Regions from separate parts of the Homo sapiens genome. Here all the other regions are linked to region 2. Evidence: promoter capture Hi-C in 16 types of primary human blood cells and fetal thymus (Javierre and others, 2016). All regions are on one chromosome and are shown on one strand. Each heading gives the region's core, a stretch centred on a gene start or on the middle of the fragment in contact. The rest is flanking DNA. Distances are from core to core; before and after follow the strand shown.

The links. The method cuts DNA at HindIII sites, captures the fragments that hold promoters and counts their contacts. A CHiCAGO score of 5 or more calls a contact.
Region 1: a contact is called between a fragment that was not itself captured here and the fragment with the promoter of FAR2 in region 2, in 3 of 17 cell types (neutrophils, M2 macrophages and monocytes). The highest score is 6.4, in neutrophils.
Region 3: a fragment that was not itself captured here is called in contact with the fragment with the promoter of FAR2 in region 2 in 1 of 17 cell types (monocytes); the score reaches 5.3 in monocytes.
Region 4: a fragment that was not itself captured here is called in contact with the fragment with the promoter of FAR2 in region 2 in 1 of 17 cell types (neutrophils); the score reaches 10.3 in neutrophils.

The regions. Positions count from the first base shown.
Region 1 is chr12:29,332,924-29,335,864 of GRCh38, reverse strand. It overlaps FAR2 (fatty acyl-CoA reductase 2), which reads right to left. Exons shown (of 12, transcript NM_001271783.2): 12 at 249-2,233. The coding sequence ends at 2,071. Among named protein-coding and RNA genes, the nearest start is that of FAR2-AS1, 17 kb to the right of the region's middle. The HindIII fragment of the contact is 875 bases long and covers 1,253-2,127 here.
Region 2 is chr12:29,147,600-29,150,845 of GRCh38, reverse strand. FAR2 (fatty acyl-CoA reductase 2) reads right to left here and starts at 1,568. Exons shown (of 12, transcript NM_001271783.2): 1 at 1,439-1,568. RefSeq lists silencers at 1,201-1,350, 1,661-1,720. The HindIII fragment of the contact is 9,301 bases long and covers 1-3,246 here.
Region 3 is chr12:29,351,836-29,355,275 of GRCh38, reverse strand. The region is part of intron 8 of ERGIC2 (ERGIC and golgi 2); the gene reads left to right. Among named protein-coding and RNA genes, the nearest start is that of ERGIC2, 28 kb to the left of the region's middle. The HindIII fragment of the contact is 992 bases long and covers 1,004-1,995 here.
Region 4 is chr12:29,368,424-29,371,785 of GRCh38, reverse strand. It overlaps ERGIC2 (ERGIC and golgi 2), which reads left to right. Exons shown (of 14, transcript NM_016570.3): 2 at 116-258; 3 at 1,564-1,672. The coding sequence starts at 153. Among named protein-coding and RNA genes, the nearest start is that of ERGIC2, 11 kb to the left of the region's middle. The HindIII fragment of the contact is 7,633 bases long and covers 1-3,362 here.

The DNA.
Region 1 (2,941 bases), core at 441-2,940, 180 kb before region 2:
TGCCACAAATAGAAGACTACTCATGTCAAAATAGCCGTATTAATGGTGTTAGAAAAAGTGAAGCATTATGTAGCTAAAGGTTAATTTATATTCATCTGATAGTTATTCCTGTGATGTGATTTGGTGGAAAGAGTTCTTTGGAAGTTATTTCCTTTTTCTGGGGGCTTGGGGGGTGGGGTGCAGGGGGTGTAAAGGAGGGAGAAGTGCTGCGGTAGTCAACGGTTAAAGACAACACTAGAAGAGGGGAATAATTTTAATTCAAATTTTTATTTAATCAAAAGTCAAAATGTGAATACTTGATTAGTGGAATTATTGAATTGGTAAAACATACAATCAAAAGTGAATTCTTAGAACTATTATTATGTCTTAATCCAATCCCACTGAGCTATATCTTGATTTCATATTTTTATCATGTCTATAGCTTGTATCTTAATTGATATAACTCAAAAGTACCATATAGACATCTCAAACTAAAGATCACCAGGTGCTTAGTTTCAGAGCTGGGTTGTCTGCTATGGAAAATATTTCCCAGAATTTAGATGAGATTGGGAAAGATATTGCCCAGAAGAGTTCCTCCAAAATGCCCTTTATATAGAGCTCAGGAGAATCTGGAATAATACTGGGCTAGATACTGCCCTAAGGCCTTGTACACTTAAACTACCACGATGTGCCTTTCTGAATATTACCCAATTACTCCAGGAAGTGAGCATAAATATAACTGCCATTCTTTATTAACATTTTATGCCTATGCCATTTTCAACTAGTTATGCGGTGACTAATTTTAGTTGTTTAGGCCCCAAGTACTATATTTGAATAATATTCCATGTTTTTAACATGAAGAAATGCTGCAATCCAACATGTACTCATCTCTCAAATATGAGGAAAGTTGGTGTAACAGTTACATTATTATTACTATAGGAATTGGAGAATATGTATAGTTTTCATTAGTTTGTATTATACACAAAATTTTTTAAGAAAACAAAACCTATTTTCTAAACTTAGAATCCCTTAGTGAAGTCTATTCACTTTTCTGCTGTGTGTTGTACAGTTAACATTGTGCAATTGGAATGACCAAGATACTAGTAAATCCTTTGGTGATCACATAAGTGTAATCTTCCCCACTTTATACCAGAAGACTAAAGCTACAGTTTAAAAGTTCATTTGAAGTTTTGTTTTGCTCAGTGGCAAAGATCAAATGGGACCATCCCTCTCCCTGTTGACCACTCTAATTGAGTCCTGAGTGGAAAAAGCTTAAATATAAAGGGTTTGGCAACTTTTAGAAGAAGGAGACTCTTGAAAGAAGGTTACCAGGAAAATTGAGGATTAAAAAGATTTAGAAATAATAGCTATCAAATTCGAATTTGAGAATATTAATTTTGACTTAAAAGCATAATACACGAGTCCCCAATGCAAATATGCTTAATCCCTCACTCTATACATACTTATTTACACTTCTTGTTCCTTTTTAAGAAGTGAATGTAGTTAAGAAAAATGTTAAATGTAAACCTACTTTTCTGATTCCCCCACCCCTCAACCAGGACTCCAGGGTATAACATAGAAAGAAAGAGAGACATTTTCAGTGGGGAATTACTTCTCTTACTGCATTTTTGAGGATATTGAGACCATTCTCCTTTTACTCATCTTGATTTTAAATTTTTCTTTTGGGTACCCAGAATGGTTCCAAGGTTAGTACTGCTTGAGCTCATTTCAGCTTCTGCCATGCATCTTTCCATATTTACTGAGTTTAAATGAATCATCTCAGAGAGAAAAGAAAAACTAAATATAGAAAAGTGGGAGTACTTTCACGTTTAATACGCAAGGGCATAAAATAGAATGTTAGGAAACAATTTGGATTTTTTTCCCTAAAATATAGGTGACTATGGGCTAGTTTACAACTTTCCTTCTCTCACTGAAATAAAAATACATAGTTAAGGAATAGGGACGAATACATAACAGGTGACATTTGACAGTTTGGGCATATTCCTTGTTACTTTCTAATCTTGAGAATCACAGTTTGCTGTTTTAGAGGTATCTGAGAGGTTCCAGATAAAAAGCGATGGCTAAATGCTCTTAAACTTTGAGCGTGCTGGATGCTCTAAAGTAGGAGAGGAATTTATAACAGAAGCTTACAATGAAGAACCAGACATTCCGAGCCATCTGAGATCTTGCAATGAGAAGGCGCCAGGCGATAAGGAAGAGGGCAGTATTAAAGAGGTAGTGAATATTTCGGAGCCTAGGGAACAGACAGACATAACCAAAGTTAAAACTACCAGATACCCAACCACATTATCTGAAGATAAATATGTGTTTTCCTGGATATGACTGGCAAGTATTTATGAAGTGCTCAGAGTATTTGATATAACTTGGCCAATTGGTTTCTGCGTCTTTCATTTCCACAGCATTCTTGCTGAATAGTCAGATTTCTACCATATTTCCCTAATTTCTCTTATACCTCTCTCCACTTGAAACTATTTACAAGCATGACTAGCATAATCTTGTAAATATACTTTGGTCATGTTACCACATCATAAATCTTCACTGGTTCTTGTTCATTAGAAGGTAAATTCTAAAGTTCTTGGCTTGCTATTCAAGGTTCCTCCTTCCTGTTTTGCAAGCTACTTTTTTATCCTTATCATCTCTGCACTACAGATCCTCTGCTTCTACCAGGATTATACCAGAGTGCTAGAATTCCTTGTCCCTCAGGGATTACGACTGAAAGAAATTTAAGAAAGTTGAAAAAATTGAGGAGTGACTTTTTTCTAGGTTAAATAGCATAATCAGGTCTCCTGCCTGTTGGGTATTTATATCCCATTATGACAGAGTGTGGTAGAAGAAACAAATTTGGGTTCAAATCTGGCTCTTAGACTTACTATGCAATTACCATGGGCAAGTTATTTGCTGTGTTTAAATCTAGATATCTGCCTCATAAAAATGGGGTAAC
Region 2 (3,246 bases), core at 319-2,818:
CCAATGTTAGAAATAGGAGTAAGTGAGGAATTTGTTAATACAGCAGGGGCAGAAGCAGCCCTCAGAATTAGGAAAAGAGTACTGTAAAGACGTGGATCCTGAGAAATACTACCGATGAAATATTGACACACGCGTCGGCCTGGTAAAAACCTCATGCCCATCTCCTAGAAGTCTCACACACAAATATCCCTTCTGCGGAAATGCCTGCTCTTGCAGTTTAGGTGGCTGCCTTAAGTTTTTATTTAGTCCCTTGCCCCCCTTTCTAAATTTTGGACTAACTACACCTGTCAGTCAAATCTCCAGCTCTTATAAATGGGAATATACAGAGATGGGTAATTGAAACCACGGGGTAATTCTCAAATTTCCATTTGCCCAGTGTCAAATTTCTCTCAACCTAGCAAACAGAAAAGCACGATCTACCTGAATTCCCTGGTCACTTTTCTGACCCTACTCTGTCCTTGCTCATCACATAATGGGGGCACTTTACGTGATTCAACGAGTGGCCAAACTCTTGCAGATCCAGCGATAACCTTGGTTGCTCACACCACATAACTCAACCGTGGAAGAAATGGTGCCACCGCTGGCAGGTGAGACGCCTTCCTCTGGTTTGTAGGATACGATTGGGCATGAATTGTTTTAATAGACTGAGACTGCCCCGCGGGTAATTCTACTTGCTAGGAGTGTTGAGCAGCCTTCCTGCAAGCCATCTACTCCAGTTGGGAGTCTGCTGGCACCTGCTCCCCTGCACACCCCCAGGATGCCCAGGCCGCAGGAAGATGTCTAAAACTTCCTACAGGGGCAAAGCCCGCCCTGGCCTCACCAGTCGCCCCAGCGCGCGTCAGCCACGACCCCGGCGAGGCCCAGGTGGGAGGGTAGGGACGTGCGCAGCCTGGGGTGGGGCTGGGGGCTGGCGAGGACCTGCTCCGGGGACCAGGACTGGGCGCCCTGGCGGTCCCAGGCACCGGGAGGGGACCTAGGACCGCTGCCGTTTCACACGTGGCCCCGGCATTTTCGCGCTCTCTCCAGGAATAGCCCCAAGGGCCCAGGAGGCCTGGGTGGGACTCGGCCCCGCGCCTCTCTTCCCGGGTCCCCAGTCCCCAAGGCGCGGCCCCCCACATTAACCTTGCTGGGTCCTTCCCGGCTTTCTGCCCTTTGCAACCCCCGCGCGCCCCACCTTGGCGGGCTCCGCCGACGCCAACCGCGCGTAAACGGCCGGTGACGATTGGGGTGCAGCCGGGGGCAGCTTCAGGGGGCAGAGCCTCCGCAAATGCTTCTCTCCTCCCACCCGGCCTCACACCCACCCTCCTCGAGGTCCCGCCGGGAACCGCCCCGCCCTGCGAACCCAGCCGAGCCCTCCCTCCTGGGCCACCCCCAGTCCGGTCTCTGCTTTTGGAGCGCGTGGGCTCTGCGAGCGCCAGGGCTGGGGACCCTGGAATACCTGTTCCTCCAGCACGAGGATGGGGTCCAACTAGTGGTCCTCTAAATCCTGCTCCTTCCCCGAGGCTACGGGAAGCGCTCCAGCCACAAGGAAACGGCTCCAGTCTTTCGGCTCCCAAACGTGACACTCTATATATCCGGCTCGGAGACTGGGTGTGGGGCGGGAGGAAACCACCCTCCCTCCGACCTTCCCCGGCTCCGCCGCTGCCTCGGCACTGGGCGCGAAACCGGCGGCAGCCTCAGCCCGGGGCGGGAGGAGGGTGAGGGGCCAGCGAAGGCCCTACAGGTCGCGGGGGCGACAGCATCGTGGGCAGGGCGGCCGCGCGCGCAGGCCCGCCCCGCGCTTCCATTCGTTCAGCACCAGCGGATCCACTGGCTATGACTCCCGCATTTGTGTGGTTTGGGGGAGGGGAGTTGGTTTTGGTTTCGGTGGGTTTGGTTTGTTTGTTTGTTTGGGGCTTTTGTTTTGTTTTGTTTTGGGTTTTGGGGTTGGTTTTTTTCTCCATTTTTTAATCAGTGGGCGAGGGGACAAGGAAGCTAGAAAGGCGCCCCTCTCTGGTGTGGGAAAGGAGAACTCCCACACCGTGAAAGGTGGCGGGGTAGGGGGGTGGAGGGAGAGACCGAGACAGGAGAGAGATTCAAAGGTTCTAGTCTGAACTGAACGCTTGGGGGACATACCTTTCCCCACCCACCCTAGCAGAAAAGGCAGCCAAAAATCCCAGTTTACTCAGCTTGACTACACTGCACATCCCGTGGGAGGGATGCTCTTGTATCTGCTAAAGACATTGCGGAGGCGCCCTGCAGTGACCCACGAACGCAGTGGCTTTTTAAAACCCAAGGGCGTGAGGGTGGAGGGTGATGCGAGGACTTCAGGTGAGGCTTCCTCACACTCGGGGTTTGAAGGGCAGAAATCCGGCTCTGCCTGCCTATGGTGGGGTGGGGGTGGGTAGGAGACTAGAAAGGATCAGAGATGGGGGCCGCAGAAACAGCAGTGAGCCAGCTGTGCTCAGCAGCACTTCTCCGGACTTAAAAGAAAAAAAGATGTTTCATTTCTTAGCCTGGTAGCTTTTTTGGGATTTGGTCATTGTTAAATTTTAAACGGAAAAACAAGCTGCCAGGGAAGCCTTGTAGAGGGATGGACAGGCACGTGAGTGGAGCCCTTGGCCTCAACCAGGAAGTGCTGAAAAACGGCCAACGCCCATCCTAATTCCCTGGACAATGTAGGAGGTAAATTTCCAAATAAATATGGTGTGTTAAGAAAAATAGAAAAGAAATATTGTCCTATAAGCTGTTCTGATTCTCCTCATTATAACAATCCACATGCAATTAAAGAAATAAAATTTGACTTTTGAAAGTTAGAATTAAGGAGTGATTTCATGAAATTAAAATAATAACACCCATCTTGAATTCTCTACTACTGGGCTCTTTAATGAAATGTGTTAAGCTAAGTGTAGCCTAAAGGCACTGACTAATTTCCTCTGGTGACCGCCTGAATGCAAGAGACAGAAAAAAAGTTACAACCAAATTTATAGTATTTTTCGTTACCCCTCCCCTCCTCAAGAATAAATTTGAATGTATCTTCAAAATGTGTGTGACAGCACTTCAAATGATAATGTCAAATGCTGGTGAAAACGTATAGAAATCACTTAACAGATAGCAGATGGAAGGTAAATTGTAATCACGCTTTTGTTGGAAAGCAATTTAGCAACACATTCCCAAGGTGTTCAGTAACGAAATTTTTTCTTGTTCTGGACCTAGATTCCCATGTCTTACAATGTATTCAAAGGAGATAATCCATAAAAGAGAAAT
Region 3 (3,440 bases), core at 250-2,749, 200 kb before region 2:
AATACATTAATAATTATTTAATTATAGTTGTATTGAGCCTGTAAAGGAGAAGTATGGCTGATAAGAGACTATTTAACAAGGTATTAAATGTACGCTGCAAGTCAGTGGAGACTTTATTGAGGAAGACCTTTGAACACTAGGAGAAGAGGAGGAATTTAATATATAAAGGAGGGAAGGGCATACAGCAGGAAAGAGCATGGCTGGAAGTTTATAAAATACATATAGAGATAACATTAGATTTCTATGAAAAAGTATTTCAGTATTTACAATACTCAGATCAAACATTTGTTTTTTTCCTCATTATCTCTTGAAATTTATGTTTTGTTGTTTTGTTACCATTACCCATCTCCAACCCAACCTGTTGCTGGGAACCTTGGAATGTCTTGAAATCTTAGCTTAAAGAAATTTAGCAGATTTTATTGCACCTTTGGATACAAACAATATTCTAGTCCACAACCAACTCAAAGAGGGAAATTTTGACAAATATTATAATCAGACTCTATATTATGTCCCTTTTTAAAATTTGTTTTTGGTCTTTTCACAATTTCACTTTCCTTCCCAGGTGGTAACTCACACTATCAGAGAGGCCAAATAGAAAAGCATTTGGTTCATATCTTGTCATCTCAGGGATATCCTGTAAACCCACTCCTAATTTTTAGTGTTACATTTGTCAAGTTCAATATTGATCTTTTTGAAGGTCTCATATTACCTCTCAGACACAATGTCAGTCTCAACTGTAATTTAAAAGAGTAATAAAAGGAACATAATTTGTAACACAATATGTATTTCAATATGCTTGAGCGTGAATACACTAGAAGACATAATGAAGTAGGCAGATGCTTGCCACTTATATGTAGAATTTTTAAGTGTATAATTGCTACAAATGCAGACTGAAACAGATGTATTGGCTACTCAGATATCATGAGTGACATTTCCGTTGATGAGATGATATTCAGAAATAGGAATACCTCTTTGTAATATTAAACAAAACAGAATATAAGCTTCCCTTAGTTTTCTGGGAAATTTAGTGTATATTAAAACTACAACTTTATATAGCTAAATGGGGTTCAGTTCTAGACTCAGATTATTATAATAGGCTTTTCATGTACATGAGTATCTCTTAGAACATTTGAAAGTCAGGCAAATCCTGGAATGATTCTTTTTTGTGTGAGACTGTCAATTTCATTGCAGGATGCCTTGTTTCTGTGGCTGTTGTCCAGTAAATCCCAATAGCAACCCCTTCCCAATAATTCTGACAACTCAAAATGCCTCTCTTCACCCCCCACCAATTTTCAGAACAACTTTTCCTCCACTGAAAGTCATTCAGGCTAGATTCTTGTCTGATAGGGTAGAAAATATCCCAGAAAAGAAACAGGTAAATTCTGAATATCCATCCTCCCTATGCAGAGTTTTAACAAGTGTCAGATAACTACAGTCATCTGTACTAGGGTGATTTAATTTGATTTTTAAATTTAATTTTTTGAAGAAGATGCTCACTTATGCTGTTACTTCATAAAATGAATACACCTGTTAACAAAAAAAAAAAGAAGGAAATATTATTTAAAACAGCTCTCTGTTCCTCTCAGAGTAAAATCCTGGGTGGTGAGAGAGATCATTGAAGTAAAATGTATAGGTTGAGCATCCCTTATCTGAAAATCTGAAATTCAAAATGCTCCAAATTTGGAGCATTCAAAATACTCCAAATTTGAGCATTGTCAACACGATGCTCAAAGGAAATGCTTAAGAGTGTTTCAGATTTCAGGTTAGGGAGGCCTCCCTGGCAAATAAAATGTACATATTCTAAAATCTAAAATTTGAAACTTCTGATCCCAAGCATTTTGGATAAGGGATATTCAACGTGTAGTATTGTAATTTGGTTATTCAGAAAAACTTTGTTGTTTGTTTGAAAATAATAGTAGGAACACTGTTAGACTGACAATATGATTGGAGCTAGTAATAATTTATGACAGTAGACTTTCTTTTTAGTAGTAAGCTTGAGGTAATACACTTGACTGTGAACACAGAAGAATTTACGAGACCAAACTACCAATCATTCCAGTGCATCAGGAAATGCTTTATTGAGCAAGGTTTTAGTATACTTTATGTTGAATGTCAGTTAATACATTTCCCTAATCATTGTATTGCCTTTTTTAAAGTGCCTGGTGTTTTGCTAGGTAACACATAGAACAAATTAAACAATGTTTAGACCTACTAGGGCATATTCTGAAACTTGACAATGGTAACAGACAGTTAATTGGTTATAAAGAAAGAAGGCTCCTTTATGGAGAGTTTCTATTTTCAGTTTTTTAGTTAATTGCTAGAATTAGTAACTGGGTAAAGCAGGATTGTGATAAAGGAGATCTTCAAGGTGATTTTTTAATTTTTTTTAACCAGGAACAGGGAAGGATAGTACTTATTTGTAGAAGTGTAAAGGTGCTAAAAGAACAGGTTAAATTTGAAAGATAACAGTGTATAACAGAACAAAGGTTTACTGCAGTGGTAGGCAAACTACAGTTTATATACCAAATCCAGCCTACTACCTGTTTTTGTATGGTTCATGAGCTAAGAAGGGCTTTTAAATTTTGTTTATTTATTTGTTTGTTTATTTTTTTGAGACAGAGTCTCGCTCTGTTGCTCATGCTGGAGTACAGTGACGTGATCTGGGCTCACTGCAATCTCTGCCTCCCAGGTTCAAGTGATTCTCCTGCCTCAGCCTCCTGAGTAGCTGGGATTACAGGTAGCCCACCACCACGCCCGGCTAATTTTTGTATTTTTAGTAGAGACAGGGTTTCACCATGTTGGCCAGGCTGGTCTCGAACTCCTGACCTCAGGTGATCCACTCACCTTGGCCTCCCAAAGTGCTAGGATTACAGGTGTGAGCCACCTTGCCCAGACATGGTTTTTACATTTTTAAATATTTGAAAATAAATCAGAAGGGGAGTAATATAATACATGAGAAATATATGAAATTTAAATTCGTGTCCAAAAATAAAGTTTTATTGGCATATAGCCATGCTCATTTGTTTATATATGGCTGCTTTTGTATTACAGTACCACAGTTGAGTAATTATGGCAGAGACCATATATGACTCTCTCATTACTTTGTACTTTGGTGTACTATGAATTGTAGTGATGCAGTTATAATTTGACAGCATTAAAAGTGCTGTGTGTATTCCTGTCCTGCAACATTTTATTTATTTATTGTATTACTATGTTAAAAAAAAGAAATATGGACTTCAAATGTTGCATTTTTAAAGCACAGTGTACCATGGATTATTTGATCAAATTTGGCTGCAGAACATCCTGCGTATTAAGCAATGACACTATTTAATTGTGCTAAAAAGAATACAGTATCTGTTGATGGTGCCAGATTGAGCATTCATCACAATATTACCAACCTATAAAAAAGCAATGATCAGAAAAATTAGAAAATTAAAAAT
Region 4 (3,362 bases), core at 495-2,994, 220 kb before region 2:
GGGGGGATGAGAATGTTAAGTTGTTTTAAGGACATTTGTCAGTTATCCTAAATTTAAAGAAACCTTTTTATCTCTTTAAAGGATTCATTTATTCATTAATTTATTTATTCCTTAGCATGACTATATGAAGGAAGAGGAAGGTTTTCCTGAAGATGAGGCGACTGAATCGGAAAAAAACTTTAAGTTTGGTAAAAGAGTTGGATGCCTTTCCGAAGGTTCCTGAGAGCTATGTAGAGACTTCAGCCAGTGGAGGTACAGGTGAGTATCAGTTAACATTAAAAGTTCTGTAGTAAGTACAACTTCTGCGTGATCCAGTCAACAACATATAGAAATGTAGCCATGAGGAAGAATTTATCAATGAATTCTGCCGTAACTTCGTAACTTGTCTGTCTTCATGCCACTCTGTTGGCTGTAATTCTTATTAATATTCTCTATAGCCTCCAACACAGTGCCATCTGTGCCTTTGGCAGTGTTTATTAAAACATTAATACATTAAACCAATGTTTCTGCTTTGCTGCCCTTTCCTAAATATGTGACCTTGAGGAAGTTATTCAAATCTATCTGTCTTAGTTTCTTCCATGAAATAGGGATCATACTAGTATTTACCTCCTAGGGGTTACTATACTATTAATATTTTCATAAAATGCTTAGACCCAGTGCCTGGTACAGATAAAAGTATCAGTTAAGTAAAATAAATAATGAAATATATAAGAAAAATGTGTGACTATAACAATATTCAGTATAATTTCTTTCCCTATGAAAAGGTAGTAAAATAATGTATTTCACTTAAGGTTGACATTTTATTTGGTAAAATGGGTAATAAGTTGCTTACTATTTCTGATCCACTTGTGATTAAGTTTTGTTAATGAAAATAGTGCAAGTTCTTGCAAAATCTATTTTAAGTATTTTGCTTTAGTATATAATAGATTTTCTTTTTGTCAGATCTTTTACTCAGTTCTGTGAATGAGGTGATATATTTAGGAGATTGCCAAGTAGAGGAGAGTTTTGTTAGCTATTTAGAGATGTTATTTGAGTTTCTGGCACACAGATTATTGTGGTTTCTCAGGATCTAAGAAATTAGGCTACCTTTTTGTTTGTTTTAAATTGGGCTTATAGCCCAATTTATATACATTTATATACAAATTATATTTATAGACATGGATGCATTTTTAATAATGAAGCAACTGTTTTCAAATTTGTGCTATAAGGCATGCTTACTTTCATCATTTATCCTATCTGTGACACTGTTTTATATAAGAAATACAAATTTTGTCAACTCTACTTAGTGAGAGATGCCCTTAAAATTGGAGAAATAAAATGCTTTCTTAGTAATGCAAGTGTTTATGTTCATATTTGTATATATTAAACCTTAACTTTTGAGCTGTATTAGAAAAAATGCATAATAAACATTTTGAATAAAAACCTTCTATAGTATGCATTCAAATGGAAGTTACATTATTAGGCTTTTTCTTTTGAAAATTTAATCTCACTTAAATTAGTTTCCTATTCTTTGCTTTTTTTATTGTTTTAATTCTGTTTTTCTTTTGTTGTTGGATTTCCCAGTTTCTCTAATAGCATTTACAACTATGGCTTTATTAACCATAATGGAATTCTCAGTATATCAAGATACATGGATGAAGTATGAATACGAAGTAGACAAGGATTTTTCTAGGTAATCATTTTTTTTCTTCTTGGAATACCTTTAGATTCAAATTGTTTTAAAAAGAGCATACCTTTTAAAAAAGAAAAAGTCTAACCTTCTAGATTTGGTTTGTTTTAGTTCTGAAGAAATAGTCCTGAAAAATTCTCATTAATTGCATGCATTAAGTGAAACCTTTTAGAATCATTTAAATAGTGGTTGAATTCTAAAACTGAGGTTCTTTGATTTAGCATGCTTTGTTTCAAAAAGTTAGGGGAATATTTTTCCTTAGATATGTATATTGTGGAAATTGTTTAATATTTGAAACTGGTTGAAATACCTCACTGATCTGTGTGAGCTGGAAAATAAGTTGTCTAAGGATACATTGTATACCCTTATGACTTGATGTCTATAAATTATACCTAAGCTAAATCTTTATGTAAATAAGATTACTTTTAAACTTTTGAAAATATAGTACCTTAATTATACACTTTACATCTATTCGTTTGTATTATTTGGATTTCTTCAATGGAATGAAGATAATAGGTTTATAATATTAAGATTGCACCAAATAGGAAGACACATTTAGTTTTCAATTACAATCCAGGTTTGCCATTTACATAATTTTAGGGAATTTACTAAATCTGCACCTGTATATGCTTCAGTTTCCTTTTTTGTAAAGTACAGACAGCAATTATAGTATCTTCCTCAAGAGGTTTATGAGAATTAAATTAGTCAACATTTGTAAATTGCTGTGTAACCTTGGGCAGGTCACACCACTGACTTCTTTTGGACTTCAGTTTCTTCATCTCTAATGTACTATTCAGGATAGTATTGGTTTTCAAAGAATTTGTTGTTGTTTTCAGCACCAATGCAATACTTCATTTTTTTCCAAATGAAGTCTTATGTATTACATAGTTCGCCACATAAGCATGGTGAGGATATGCAGAAGTTTGTCTACTTGGCCTACTCCTGGTTCCTATCTCCTGAGCCTAAACTCCTGGGTTATTTGGAACACAGTTTGAACTCTAGATGACTTTAAGACTTCATGAAGGTCTAAAAATCTGTAATTCCTATTTTAAATCAGATGAAAATTATTACACAGAAAAAAGTTATCATAGAAAGCACAGGACTGAATTTGATCATAGCCAGTCTATTATTCGCAATGCTTCATTCTGGTATTCGAAAATTGCTTTGATCTAATCATTTGAAAATGAAAGGCCATGAAAAATTTTAAGCATCAGGTGATTTACTTTTGGTAGTTTGGTTGCATTTATCCTGAGTTACATAGACCTAGTTTCCAGTATGCCACTTTAATGGTGATGTGATCTTAAGCCAGGTATTTACACTACCGTGAACACCAGTGGTTTACTTGAAAATCTGTGAAGCCATCCATTTATAGCTCCATGATATAGAATAAAGGAGATAATATTTGTAGAACATCTAGCATCATGCTTAATATATGGTGTTTGATAAACAGAGAAGAAAGACAATTCCTAATTCTTGATTTTGAGAGTTTTACATTCTTAAAAGAACATTCTATCAAAAGTTTATGTAAATAGAGATTAAGAGGTTAAGACTTTTTCTGAGTTGCTTAGAGTTATTGATTATAGAGTTGCCATTATTAAAGGATACTGTGTTCAAAAACCTGTGAAGTCAGAAAGGCTTTTGGAATAAGGGCAAAATAGAACTTGTAATTTAAAGAGCCTTTGTTTTGGCCATG